Regions from separate parts of the Homo sapiens genome. Here region 2 is linked to region 1. Evidence: promoter capture Hi-C in 16 types of primary human blood cells and fetal thymus (Javierre and others, 2016). All regions are on one chromosome and are shown on one strand. The core of a region is centred on a gene start or on the middle of the fragment in contact, and the rest is flanking DNA. Distances in the headings are between cores, read along the strand shown.

The links. Contacts are between HindIII fragments. The CHiCAGO score rates a contact against its expected background, and 5 or more counts as called.
Region 2: a contact is called between the fragment with the promoter of CYBB here and the fragment with the promoter of LANCL3 in region 1, in 6 of 17 cell types (megakaryocytes, erythroblasts, fetal thymus and 3 more). The highest score is 10.6, in megakaryocytes.

The regions. Positions count from the first base shown.
Region 1 is chrX:37,567,140-37,573,444 of GRCh38, forward strand. LANCL3 (LanC like family member 3) reads left to right here and starts at 4,522. Exons shown (of 5, transcript NM_001170331.2): 1 at 4,522-5,304. The coding sequence starts at 4,732. The HindIII fragment of the contact is 8,836 bases long and covers 1-6,305 here.
Region 2 is chrX:37,776,030-37,782,935 of GRCh38, forward strand. CYBB (cytochrome b-245 beta chain) reads left to right here and starts at 4,030. Exons shown (of 13, transcript NM_000397.4): 1 at 4,030-4,093; 2 at 6,059-6,154. The coding sequence starts at 4,049. RefSeq lists an enhancer at 4,072-4,121. The HindIII fragment of the contact is 266 bases long and covers 3,900-4,165 here.

The DNA.
Region 1 (6,305 bases), core at 3,272-5,771:
GAAAAGAGTGTGTGGTCCTGAGACTAGACCCTCAGAAGTCTTGCATGTCTCTGCTTTTGCTTTAGCCCCTCTGCCATTGCCATGCAAGTATGCTGGGGTTGGCCAGCTAAAAGACAGCAAAACCCAGCCATGGATGGAAAGAAAATTTTGACATTATGAAGAGCATCACAGACATCAATAAATATCTATTGAGCACATACAATGTGTCAGGCATTGATCTAGATGCCAAGCATACAAGAGGAAACAACACAGACAAAATTTCCTGTTATTATGGGGGTTAAATTTTAGTGGAGAGAGATAGATGGGAAACAAAACAAATAGGTAAAATATGTAGTCATTAGATACTAATGGTTGGTGGAGGGGTAGTAACTTTAAACTAATAAGTTGGAGAAAGTCTCATTGAAAGAGAGGTGAAGAGGCAAGCCATGAGGTAATTTTTTGAAGAGTATTCAAAGGACAGAAAACTGCAAAGGAAAGAGGAGAATTAGGGAAAAGTTTCCAATTATGTTGTTAATCTAATAAAATAGGGATGAGTCACCACAGAGGATATGCTATAAGGAATGAAGAAAGCACTATTCAGTTATCTCAAGCATTTCTAGGATGCACCCTTTGAACAAAATTTTGGAAAACTTTTTGAAAGCATTTCTAGGATGCATTATCCCATAAAATGTATTAAATCTTAATTGGTAAGGTTTGACAGTTATACAATTACTGATTTTTTTTCATATTCACCCATAGAGAGCAATAATTTGCATAAGAGAAACCCTGATTTTAATACTCTCTTTTCTGGATAGTTTTGCATAATTTTTATGCGATTTCCTTGATGAACCCAATAATACTCTCTTCCATCCATAGTTTTGCATAATCTGCATAATAAGGACGTACTGAAGAAGAACTAGGAACTGAGCAATTCAGCAAGATCACAGAAACATGTGTTGGGAGCTGCCTGTCAGCAAATGCTGCTAGAAATTCTGTGACTATCAGGACAAATCTTGCAGATAATGGTAAAATAAATGGCCTTGGCAAGATTTTGTATAGACTGCATATTTCTTGTGGGGTCATCACTACTTTTAAAGAATCCAACTGGAATTGTTATTTCAGAACACAACGTTTTGGGTGCCTGCATACTTCTCTGTCTTCCAGACTTCTCTAAAATATTTATCTTCCTAACTGCTCATTGCCCTGTTGAGTGTAGACTATTGATTAGAGGGGACTTCCAGAGCATTGGATTATGGGAAGCTAGCAGGACATTCCAGTTACCTTGCTCCATAACACATTATCCTAAAACTTCGAGGCTTATAACAACTATATTTTTGTTTGTAATTTTTTGGGTCAGGAATTCTGGAAGGGTCTGGGATGATGGTAATCTGAAGGCTTGACTGGGGTGGATATTTCCAAAGTGGTTCACTCACATAGCTGTCAGTTGATGCTGTCCTCGGGCTGTCAATCCAAGCACTTCCAGGTGACCTCTTCATGTTGTCTGGGCTTCCTCTCGATAAGGCAGCTTCAGGGTAGTCAGATTCTTACAAGGCAGCCCAAGGCTCCAAATGTGAGTGCTGCAACATTTAAGATGGAAGCTGCATTACTTTTTATAATTAAGCCTTGGATGCCATACGGTGTTATTTCCATCACATTCTATTGGTTACAAATGAGATATAAGCCCACCCAGAATTCAGAAGAGGTTGCATGTACCTCCCTCCTGATGAGAGGAATGTCAAGGTCACATTGATTGCAGAGGAACATGTGGCATAGGAGATATTGTTGTGGCCATATTTGAAAAATATAAGCTGCCACACAGGGTTAATTAGCAAAAGTAGAATGTGTGAAGACCCCGAATTCAAGGTAAAGTATAGAGGTCACCATATCTTGTAGAGAAACAGACAAGAGCAAAAACTGCAGAATGTTTACATTCTTGTGCTCACAAGAGGAAAAGGGTCCAAGAATATAGGAGGAGTTTAGACATGTCAGGCTAAGGTTTCAAAAAAGGCCTCACTCTGTGTTCTATACTTTAGGGTACCTTAAGTCTCTCATGGCACTCTCATGGTAATTCATTCATTATTTCATAAACTTTCAGTAAATATCTACTACAGGGAGTAGTGGTAGTAGTAGCAATAGCAGTAGCAGTAGTAGTGGTAGAATAGAGACTATTCTAGGATCTTGCATATCAGTAAATAAATGCAAGAAAAAGCCCTACCCTCATGGAGAGTATATTCTAGTGGAGTAGTGATATTAAAATAAATAACACTGCATGCAAATTAAGTATAGGACAATTAGAGGTGGGGTTTCAAAGAACCCTAACGCTTCACCCTACCCTGTATCCATACCCTTTGTCATGCAAATTTGAAGTTCAACAAAAACACCTTATATTTCCTCATGTGATTTGCCAATAGACTAAGGCAGAAAAGAGTGTGTGCTCCTGAGACTAGACCCTCAGAAGTCTTGCATGTCTCTGCTTTTGCTTTAGCCCCTCTGCCATTGCCGTGCAAGCATGCTGGGGTTGGCCAGCTAAAAGAGAAGAGACATATGGGCCAGAGGCCAGTCACCTCAGTCTCCCCAAGCAAGACCCAACCCACCTCCAGACACCTGAATGAGCCCAGCCAAGATCCTAGATGCATAAACATTAAATTTACTGCCATATGCTATTAGATTTTGTGATTGCTTTTCATACAGCATTTTGGGGCAATAGACAGATGACACAACTGGGAAAAAGTGGAAGAGCTCGTTTTCTTGGAGACGTGTTTACACACAGTTCTATTTTGAAGCCAGTTAGCAGATCCCTGTTGTTGTTGCTGGCGCTACCTCTAGGCTGGAGTGTTTCGAAGAATAATCAGAGTCAGAATTAATAGAGTTGCCTCTAGATTCATGACAAGGGTGAGTGAGGTGTGGAGGAATGAAGTGGAATAAGGCTTCATTTCTGCTGGTAAAGGCTTTATTTTATGTTTCCTTGTCTGAGGGGACAAAAATCACCTCTAATGTCTGTTATGGTTGAGGGATGAGGAAGGAAGTCTCAAGGAGAAACTCAACATTCCTGTTGCTTCTTTGATGCCTTTTCCTCCTTTAACATATCAAGCTCCCTGCCTAAAAGTGGACTTTTATCATTATTATTATTATTAAAAATAAACCTGTTTTGGCAGCATCAAAGGGGGACGATGGCCATACTGTCCTTGAACTATGTGGATGTGTCAGTCCTGGCAATCATGTTGGCAAACTAAGGTTCTTTCCCAGACTACATCAAGTAAGGGTGGAGGGGCAGGGTATTTAATATCTGCTTCCCAATCATGGTGACATTTAACACTTCTGAGGAAAAAAAAATGCCTCCAAACTGGCCTTTCAAGTAAGTGGAGTAGTTACTCTCCCCACAAAGTATCAGAAACTGTTCTATGAGCCACTTACTCCTTTATGTCTTGCACAGTCCCTATCAAAAGTCAAATACTCCTGGGAGACGTGACCTCTTTAGTCTTCAAGAGTCAACACTTTGGGAAAGGCAGAATTATTTCAAACAGCTGAGCACAAGAAAGGCAACTAGCTTGTGTAATTGTTCATTTTCTGTTTTTTCCTACTGAATTGTAAGCTACAAGGGGTCTAGGACCATGTCTATCTTATTCATCCCTCTATTTCCAGGTTTCAGGACACATAGGAGACCCTCCACAACGCCCTTGGGAAAAAAGCAGAAGAGGACAAACATGGGAAAAGAAGGGAGGGAAGGGGGAGATAAAAAGCCTAATTAAATTCTCACAGAGCGTTTATCCTAATATTAACTAGTTAATGACCTCAAGATATGTATTGAGCTTTTACTATGCACGCATGGCAGGAGGGGCGTGCCCCTTCCTTGCCTTAACCTGGTGTGGTTCTTTGACTTTTTACTCCTGTATACTCGAAGAAAACAATACAAAAATCAAAGCTGGGAAAAAAGTTCCTGTATGGGGTATTTCACCGTTTTAATGCATTAAACATGATGTGCTCAAATGCCCCAGCCTTTGGGATTGAAACATTCATAATGAGAACTCCGAAGCGACCAAGATGAAATACAAACTTCAAAGAAGGCGCCCAGTTTTGTCTTGCTACTCTAGCCTAGTTCAGTGGCGCCTCAAACTTTAATGTGCATGCGAATCACCTGGCAATCTTGCTGAATATTCAGATTTGGAGTCAATAGGTCTGGAGTGAAGCCTGAGATGCTGCGTTTTTAACATGCCCCCGGGTGATGCTGATGCTTCTAACCCAAGGACCACACTTTGAGTATACAAGGGACTGGAGACCATCACCTCTACCGCCAGGTGTGTGTATGCTGAGTCCCAGCGTTCCAGATCAGTGTCCCGCACGTCCTCGGCCTTCTGCCAGTAGGGGAGGAGTCGGGGGCGGAGCGGGAGGAGTGGCGCGGGCCCCGCGTGGGTCCTGCCAGAGATCACCTCGGCCCCTTGAAGAGGCAGCCAAGCTGCGGCGGCGCAGGAGGGGGCGGGTTCAGCGAGGGCGCGGCCTCTGAGGGGGGGCGCAGGACACGCATCCCCCGCGATCGCCCGGGCCACTCGGGAGCCTCGCGGCAGCCCGGCGCCCCACTTGGCCATCCGCTCCTTGCCCGCCTCCTCTTGTCACCTCCCGTCTCATCCTTCTCGCTCCTTCCCCGCCGCATACACCGGCATCCGAGTGCCTCAGAGAGCCGGAGGTGGTGTGCGGGGCTGCAGGGCACGACTTCAAGCGGTCCTCAGCTCCGCACTAGGGGGCACGGGCAACAGCATGGACACCAAGCGCTGCTTCGCCAATCGCTTCGATGACTACCAGGGCAGCCTGCTGGCGGGCCAGTGTGAGGAGGCGGTGGCGCCCTTGGTCACCGCCACCATCGAGCGCATCCTCCAGGAGCTTCCCCCACTCGGGGGCGGCGCGGAGGCCCGAGGGGCGACGGCGGGGGCTAGCGCCTGCCAGGGGGGGCTTTATGGCGGCGTGGCCGGAGTGGCGTATATGCTCTACCACGTCTCGCAGAGCCCGCTTTTCGCCACGGCCCGGGAACGCTACCTGCGCTCGGCTAAGCGCCTCATCGACGCGTGCGCCCGCGCTGAGGAGTGGGGCGAACCGGACGCCGACACCCGCGCCGCCTTCCTGCTCGGGGGCGCGGGCGTGTACGCCGTGGCCACGCTCGTATACCACGCCCTGGGCCGGTCCGACTACGTGCAGCCGCTGGGCAAGTTCCGGGCTCTGTGTGCCGTCTGCGCGCCGGTCTCCTTCCTGGAGTGCGGCTCCGACGAGCTGTTCGTGGGCCGCGCGGGTTACCTGTGTGCCGCGCTGGTGCTCAAGCAGAAACTCGCCCAGGAGGTAAGAGGTAGCCCGGGCCGCGGGAGGGCGCTCGCCGCCTGCCCGGCCTCCTTTCCCCGGACTCCGTGGCTCGGGCAGCACTGTCCCGAGTTGCTCTCCAAGTCTTTGTTACTCTTGGTGTGGTGCTAGCATTTCTTCAGTCCCTTGAGGTCTATCTCCTGCTTTTGTCCCTCTTCTTTCCTGTCGTTTTCAGTCTCTCATTTGTTGAGATTCGGCGTCTCTGCGCTTTGTTCGTGTTTTTACGTGGCATCACTCCAGATGCCTGTTAGCTTTCTGGGGGATGACAGTGTGGCCCTTTCAAGTAAGATGAAAACCTCAGAAATGGAAGGGATTTCCTTTCCTTTGACTCTGCTGTCAAAAGCTGAGGCATCCTCGAATGTTAGAGTGCTAGAAAGTAATGGAACTTTTCGGGGCCGATGTGGAGGTAAGTTGCTTCTGGAGCCCTGGGTCTGTAACCAAGAATAACTGCTCAGCTGTGGGTCTGATGTGTTTACTGTTTTGCTTACTATTCAGTTCAACCCATGGCTCTTATTAAATGCATATCTGATAGGAGTGTCCCCTTTAAAAATACATAAATGTAGACGGAAACGTACCCGGAAATGTACCCCATTGTGGTTGAATGTGCATTATTTCACTTAAAAATATTTGCTTAGGATGGGCAAGACCACAGCTTTCTTGACAGGGCAGCTTTTCTTGATGAATAACTTTACAGTGGCTCCTAAAAGTGAATTGGTTTTCACATACATATTTTTTCCTGGACTCACTTTGAAATCAGCATGTGGTTATTAGAAGAGAATATGCCAGTTCCTGTGGAGTAGGAAAAAGAACAAAACTCTGAAGGATCATAGTGACTAGAACGGAGAGAGAGGCACTTTCATTCATAATCCCCTGGAGCCAACTACTGTTCTAGGGAGGAAGTGACACATTTAACTTGGCTTTATTTAGGTGAGAAAGGCGTTTGAAGAAAAATTAAAGGTATATAGAGTGTTTTAAAAGAGTAA
Region 2 (6,906 bases), core at 2,780-5,279, 210 kb after region 1:
GTGATTACTTTTATAAAGGCGGGGGGGAGGGGAAATCAGTAGAATGGAATGGTTGATTACTCAGGGAAAAGATTCTTTCTTTTTTGAATTTTCTTCTCAAATTATGGAGGGAAGGAAAGGGAGTGGGAAAATGTTCAAGAAATAAGTTTATGTGAAACTGGGAATGTTATTTCCTGGTATATGCAGATTAATGATCCCTTTGTCATTGCCTCCCCAGCAGAGCACAGGCTTCAGGAGGCAGGTGGAAAAGTATGAGAAAGGCTTGAAAATTTAAGTGGGATAAAGGAAGATGATCCAATAGGCAGAGAAAGAGAACAGTGGGGATAAGTACAGAGGAAAAGACTGATGAGTTCCAAGAGCTTATGGTGAAGCAGTCATCTTTGTAGAGGAGTTTGAGAGTGGCAGAGATGAGGAGAGAAAGTGGATTTTTAAATATGTTTTATTTTTCTTTGGGTATAAAGGCCTCACTTCTTTGAATACATGAAAAAAATAAGTACAGATATGAGTAACTTTTTTGTTTCAGTCAAAAAACAGAAACCACTGTATTTCAACAGGGGGAATTTCATACCAGGAAATTTGTTACATGGATTATGGAAAAGTAGAGAATCCCAACATGGGGTGCAGAGGCAACATAATATAAAGATGAACAACTACAGGAAGTGGTTACCACCCTAGGGGTTAGAGGGAAACTAGGAGGTGGTGGTGTAACTTGAGTTCAGAAGCCAGGGCCACCTGGCAGAATCTTGAGCTACAGTGGTGATGGCTAGGACTAGCTCATGCCACAGGGGGAGAGGCTGACTGGTGAAAGTTGGAGCCTCAGTGCAGATGCAGCCCCTTCATGGATGCCACTTAAAGCAGAAAGCTCAGGGAAGAAACACTATGGCTTATCTCCTGCTATCCATTCTCCAATTCAGCTAAACATACTAGAAGCCAGAGGGCCAAGGAGCCTGGCAATACAATTTTCTCTGAAACACAGTAGAGCAAGGAAAGTGGGGAATAGACCTGAGAGCAAGAGGCAAATAATTGGCACATGTTTTAATTGTCTAAGTGTGTTTCTTTGAATTCATCTCTGTGTGGAACAGAACCACGAGACTAACTTCTCTTTATGTGGTTTACACATGGTCTAAGAGCCATAGCATTCTAAAAAGTACCTTTCCTTGAATATTAAGAAGTGAAAAACACTACTACTTTGCTAATTATCGTAATTACAGAAGCTTCCCAAGTAGTTCATGGACAACAATCAAAAGAGTACTTATGTCTTTTTTTTCCTTCTTTTGTTCCCTTTCACTCCTCCCATTTCTTTTTTTTTTACCTCCATATTAGCTATAACTGCTGTACAACTACCCTTGTGCAATTAGTCAATATTGATCTCATAATGGGGTTACTATCCTACCTTCCTGTCTCTTTCATGTCTTGAAGAGTGGGTACCAACAAGGGAAATGATGCTACATTTAGCTTTTGGCATCTACCATATCTGACATATCTTTGTGCTGACCCTGTTTACTCACTTAGCATATAGGATGTCATGTTTGCCTGGAAACATGATTGCCATCTAAACATTTTGGTATATTTCTTGTATTTTGTCATGTTTTCCTATAGTTGTATGTGGAGTGATTTAATGTAGGGTTTTTAGTGTAGGCATAGTAAGGCTTTTTTCTAGTATCTTGGTCAAAAGTATAACCAAATTTCTTGGGTTTTAAATCCCAACTCTACTATTTGCTAGTTATGTGAACTTGGCCAAGTAACTGAACTGCTCTGGAACTCAGTTTCCTTATCTGTAAATATAATCATAATAATAGAATCTGCTTTACAGTGGTTGAGTTGTGAGGATCAAATGAATTGATGTGTGTGTGTTTGCATGTGTGTCTATATGTGTAATACACACATATATGCAGTCATATCACTTAACTATGGGGGATTTGTTCTGAGAAATGTATCCTTAGGTGATTTTGTTGTTGTGTGAAAATCATAGAGTGTATTTACATAAACCTGATGGTATAGTCTACTACACGCCTAGGCTACATGGTATAGCCTATGGCTGCTAGGCTACAAACCTTATCGTTTTTTATTGTACTGAATACTGTCAGAGATTCTAACACAATGGTATCTAACCATAGTTAACCATAGAAAATAGACAATAAAAATAAAGTATAAAAGATTAAAAATGGTACACCTGTATAAGGCACTTACCATGAGTAGAGCTTGGAGAACTAGAAGTTACTCTATGTGTCAGTGAGTGAGTGGTGAATGGATAGGAAGGCCTAGAACATTTTTGTACACTCCTATAGATTTTATGAACACTGTACACTTAGGCTATACTAAATATGCAAAACATTTTGTTTTTTCAATAATGAAATAAATTTAGCTTACTGTAACTTTTTATTTATAAACTTTTGCTTTTTTAATTTCTTGACTCTTTTGTAATAACCCTAAGCTTAAAACAAAAAAAATTTTACAGCTGTACAAAAATGTTTTAATATCCATATCTAGAAGCTTTATTCTGTTTTTAAATTTTTTATTTTTATATTTTACCTTTAAAACATTTTTGTTAAAAGCTAAGACACAAACATACACATTAGCCTAGGCCCACACAAAGTCAGGATCATTAATATCACTGTCTTCCACCTCCACATTTTGCCCCACTGGACAGTCTTCAAGGGCACTAACATGCATGAAGCTGTCATCTATGACAGCAATGCATTCTTCTGGAATACCTTCTGAAGGACCTGCCTGAGATTCTTTTACAGTTAACTTTTTTATAAGTAGGAGTATACTCTAAAATAATGATTAAAAGTATAGTCTAGTAAATAAATGAACCAGTAACATAGTCATCTATTTTTACTATCAAGTACTATGTAATGTACATAATTGTATGTGCTATACTTTTACAACTGGCAGCTCAGTAGGTTTGTTTACACCAGCATTGCCACAAACACATGAGTAATGTGTTATGCTACAATGTCACTAGATGGTAGGAATTTTTCAGCACACACACACAAGTATATATATTATATATTATATTATATATTATATATATATGTATATATATATATATATATATAGAGAGAGAGAGAGAGAGAGAGAGAGAGAGAGATGGAGTCTTGCTCTGTCGCCCAGGCTGGGGTGCAATGACACAATCTCGGCTCACTGCAACCTGACTCCCAGGTTCAAGTGATTCTCCTGCCTCAGCCTCCTGAGTAGCTGGGACTACAGGTGCCCACCACCATGCCCAGCTAATTTTTGTATTTTTAGTAGAGACGGGGTTTCACCATGTTGGCCAGATTGGTCCCAAACTCCTGACCTCAAGTGATCCACCCCACTCAGCCTCTCAAAGTGCTGGGATTACAGGCGTGAGCCACCGTGCCTGGCCAACACCATTATAATCTTATGGGACCACTGTCATACATGTGGTTCATCATTGGCCAAAGCATCTGTATTTATATATGTATGTTTCAAATTATATATATATATATATATATATATATATATATATATATGATAGCTATACATGAACATACACACACACATATATAGACATATATAGCACATAAAATTGGCACATATTAAGCATTTTGTAAATATCAACCATTACAATTGTTACTACTTTTCTCAGCAAGGCTATGAATGCTGTTCCAGCCTGTCAAAATCACACCTGTTTAATGTGTTTTACCCAGCACGAAGTCATGTCTAGTTGAGTGGCTTAAAAATTGTGATCAAATAGCTGGTTAGTTAAAAAGTTATTTCACTGTGTAAAATACATCCCTTAAAATGCACTGTTATTTATCTCTTAGTTGTAGAAATTGGTTTCATTTTCCACTATGTTTAATTGTGACTGGATCATTATAGACCCTTTTTTTGTAGTTGTTGAGGTTTAAAGATTTAAGTTTGTTATGGATGCAAGCTTTTCAGTTGACCAATGATTATTAGCCAATTTCTGATAAAAGAAAAGGAAACCGATTGCCCCAGGGCTGCTGTTTTCATTTCCTCATTGGAAGAAGAAGCATAGTATAGAAGAAAGGCAAACACAACACATTCAACCTCTGCCACCATGGGGAACTGGGCTGTGAATGAGGGGCTCTCCATTTTTGTCATTGTAAGTACCAACAAGAGATAAGTTATAAATTCTCTGACTTCTCGGGGTTATCTTGGAACTAAAATAGACCAAAGCTTTTTTGTTCATTTGAGGAATTGTGTTGAAACTGATTTACCATGTGAACCTATATCTATCTGTAAACAGACTGAGTCCATTCTTCCAAATTCCTTAATGGAAAGAACATATCTGGGGGCTCACTTCTAGCTTACTTCTGAATTCCTAGGAGGAATAAATTAGCCAGCATTTCGCAGAAGGAGTAGAAAATATTTCATGCTAATGATCTCTGATTCTGAGTTGTTTAGTAATGTTTACTCAGACGCACATGTCTATGTGTTTATACTACTTTAAAAATGACAAATTGAAATTTTATACCATTTTCTAAATAAAAAATATAAGATTGACTCATGTATGGGAAGTAGGCCTTTATTTCAGTAATTACACTAAATATAATAAAACTTCTCAAATTTATTTTCAAAAACAAGTACCTTCTTTTTTCAGAGATCTAAACTTGAGTTATTTATAAGATTTATAAAAATTCAAAAGAACAGAATTGAAATAAGTCATCTAGATTCATAAATATGTAGTATGTATATTTATATATAATTGTATATATATATAAATCAATATAGTCTGGAGAAACTATGTAAGTAAAGATATAGCTAATTTACAAGTGGACAGAATGATTTCTGTACTTTTTAAAACAAAGAAAATCAACTGTTCTCTTAAAATGGTGTTATCAGCAAAGCAATAATGGACAAATTGGGTAGATAGAAATACGATTTTTAAATAGCCTTTCTAAATAACCAATAGAAGCATTACACAGATGTTAAAAAGTACAATTATGAATGGAATATGAATGGAGCTTTTGTAAAAATTTATCATGAAAAATAATGAGTCTTTGAGTTTTAAATATAGAAAGCAATTAGTGGCACAAATAAAAACAACAAATATTTTGTTATAAAAAATGTTTACGCCAAACCAACATTCTACTGCAACAGAGAATTCTTCCGAGTATTCGAAGCTGTAAACTTAACTTCTTATCACCATTTTTAAGGGCAAATAATTTCTATAGAAAGTAAGTTCAAATTAAACTTTTAGCTCTCGCCACAATTTTTCCCAGGAAATGACCTCCTTCTAAATTATATACTCATGCACTTGAAAGTGAAAACACAGCTTGGAAAGTCAGAGTAAAGAAAGAATGACAAGATCAGGAAATTGGGAAGTTGCTTTAGCACTTTTTTCTTTGTAAAGAGAGAATATTATCAAGTGTCTAGAGCATATAATAGCTTCAAAGCATAGTTGAGAAAAGATCACTATGGAGCTGAAGGTAGAGAACTGGGTAGTGTGACCACTTGATCCAGTCAGTGCTTAGGATAAAATGAACTGTCATGATCTAGAAAGCTGTTTTTGTTGTAAATCCCAAGCCCCTCACTATGCTCAATATTCTCTCCTTGAAGCATTAAGTAAAACTAATCAAGGAAAATGGAAGGCTTGGCATTTTAGCTGATGAGAATTCACTAGCTGGATTACTGTGTGGTAGAGGGAGGTGATTAGCACCTGTGAGAACAGAACGCAGTGTCATACTGGTGGAGGGAAAGCAATAGTAATATGTTCCCTTCCTTTCTCATTTTAAGTGGAGTGGCCTGCTATCAGCTACCTATCCAAGGTTAAGCAAAAGAGAGGGGAAAAAAAGGGAGTGGGGTAATGTAAGACTGATAATTTGGTATACTGGCCAAATCATAAAACAATCATGGGGAACAACACAGGGTGGAGAGGTTTTAATTATAGACAAGTGTAGTGACACTGTTGAGGAAAGAGCTGGCTCTAAGCTGGTTATATCCAGCTTTGTCACTACCTTTGTCAAAGTTGGACTTGGGGAAGTCCTGACCCTTATCTGACTCCAGTCTTGTGTGGAATCTACTGTGGAAATGCGGAAACTTCATGCAATTATTTCTGTTTGTGCAGCTGGTTTGGCTGGGGTTGAACGTCTTCCTCTTTGTCTGGTATTACCGGGTTTATGATATTCCACCTAAGTTCTTTTACACAAGAAAACTTCTTGGGGTAAGTATAAATTCCATCCCATGCAATATTGGCTGGTTCACATTTCTCATCAGACATTCTTGTTCATCTTCCTGTTAGCATTTTAAATACATATTCTGACCAACCCAAACAGTACCATTAGCCTCACTCCCTCCATTGCAACTTCCTGGGCAACAGTCACTTAAAGCCTTCCAGTCTGGGACCAACAAAAGTGGGGCAGAGGGCCCCAGTGGCATCCTTCCCCAACCAAGAACCATGTGCCATTGTTTAGCTTAAAGGAGAAATCTAATACTCACTCTGAAATGGAAGGGCAGGTTGGAGCAATCCATCCAGGAGTGACACATGTGGGACAAGTGGGACTTTCCATATTTTCTAAGTCACCTAATTCCTAGTACTTTTTTGCATGAAGAGCTCTGCTCCTAATCACATGTTATGAAATGATCTTCAGAAAATAAATCTCTCTCTACATATAAAGACTCGAGGAACTTGCTCAAGGGCCACATCTGTTGACTAGGACAGTAGAGTGAAGGCCCTTCAGTTTCCTTGGGTCCTTTAGTATTCTGAGTTTCCTTGAACTGTCAGGCCTCTTGCCTCCAGAAGACATCTGTTACATCATGCTGAAACTATGAATTAATTGCTTAATATTAATTATTATAAGTATTATAAATCATAAATAAATAATTTTAGCATATAATTATGCTAGATCATTATAATTGTTGTTAGCTTATTCACATTGATGCTTTCTCCCGCCAAAATATGCAACTTCTTTAGAC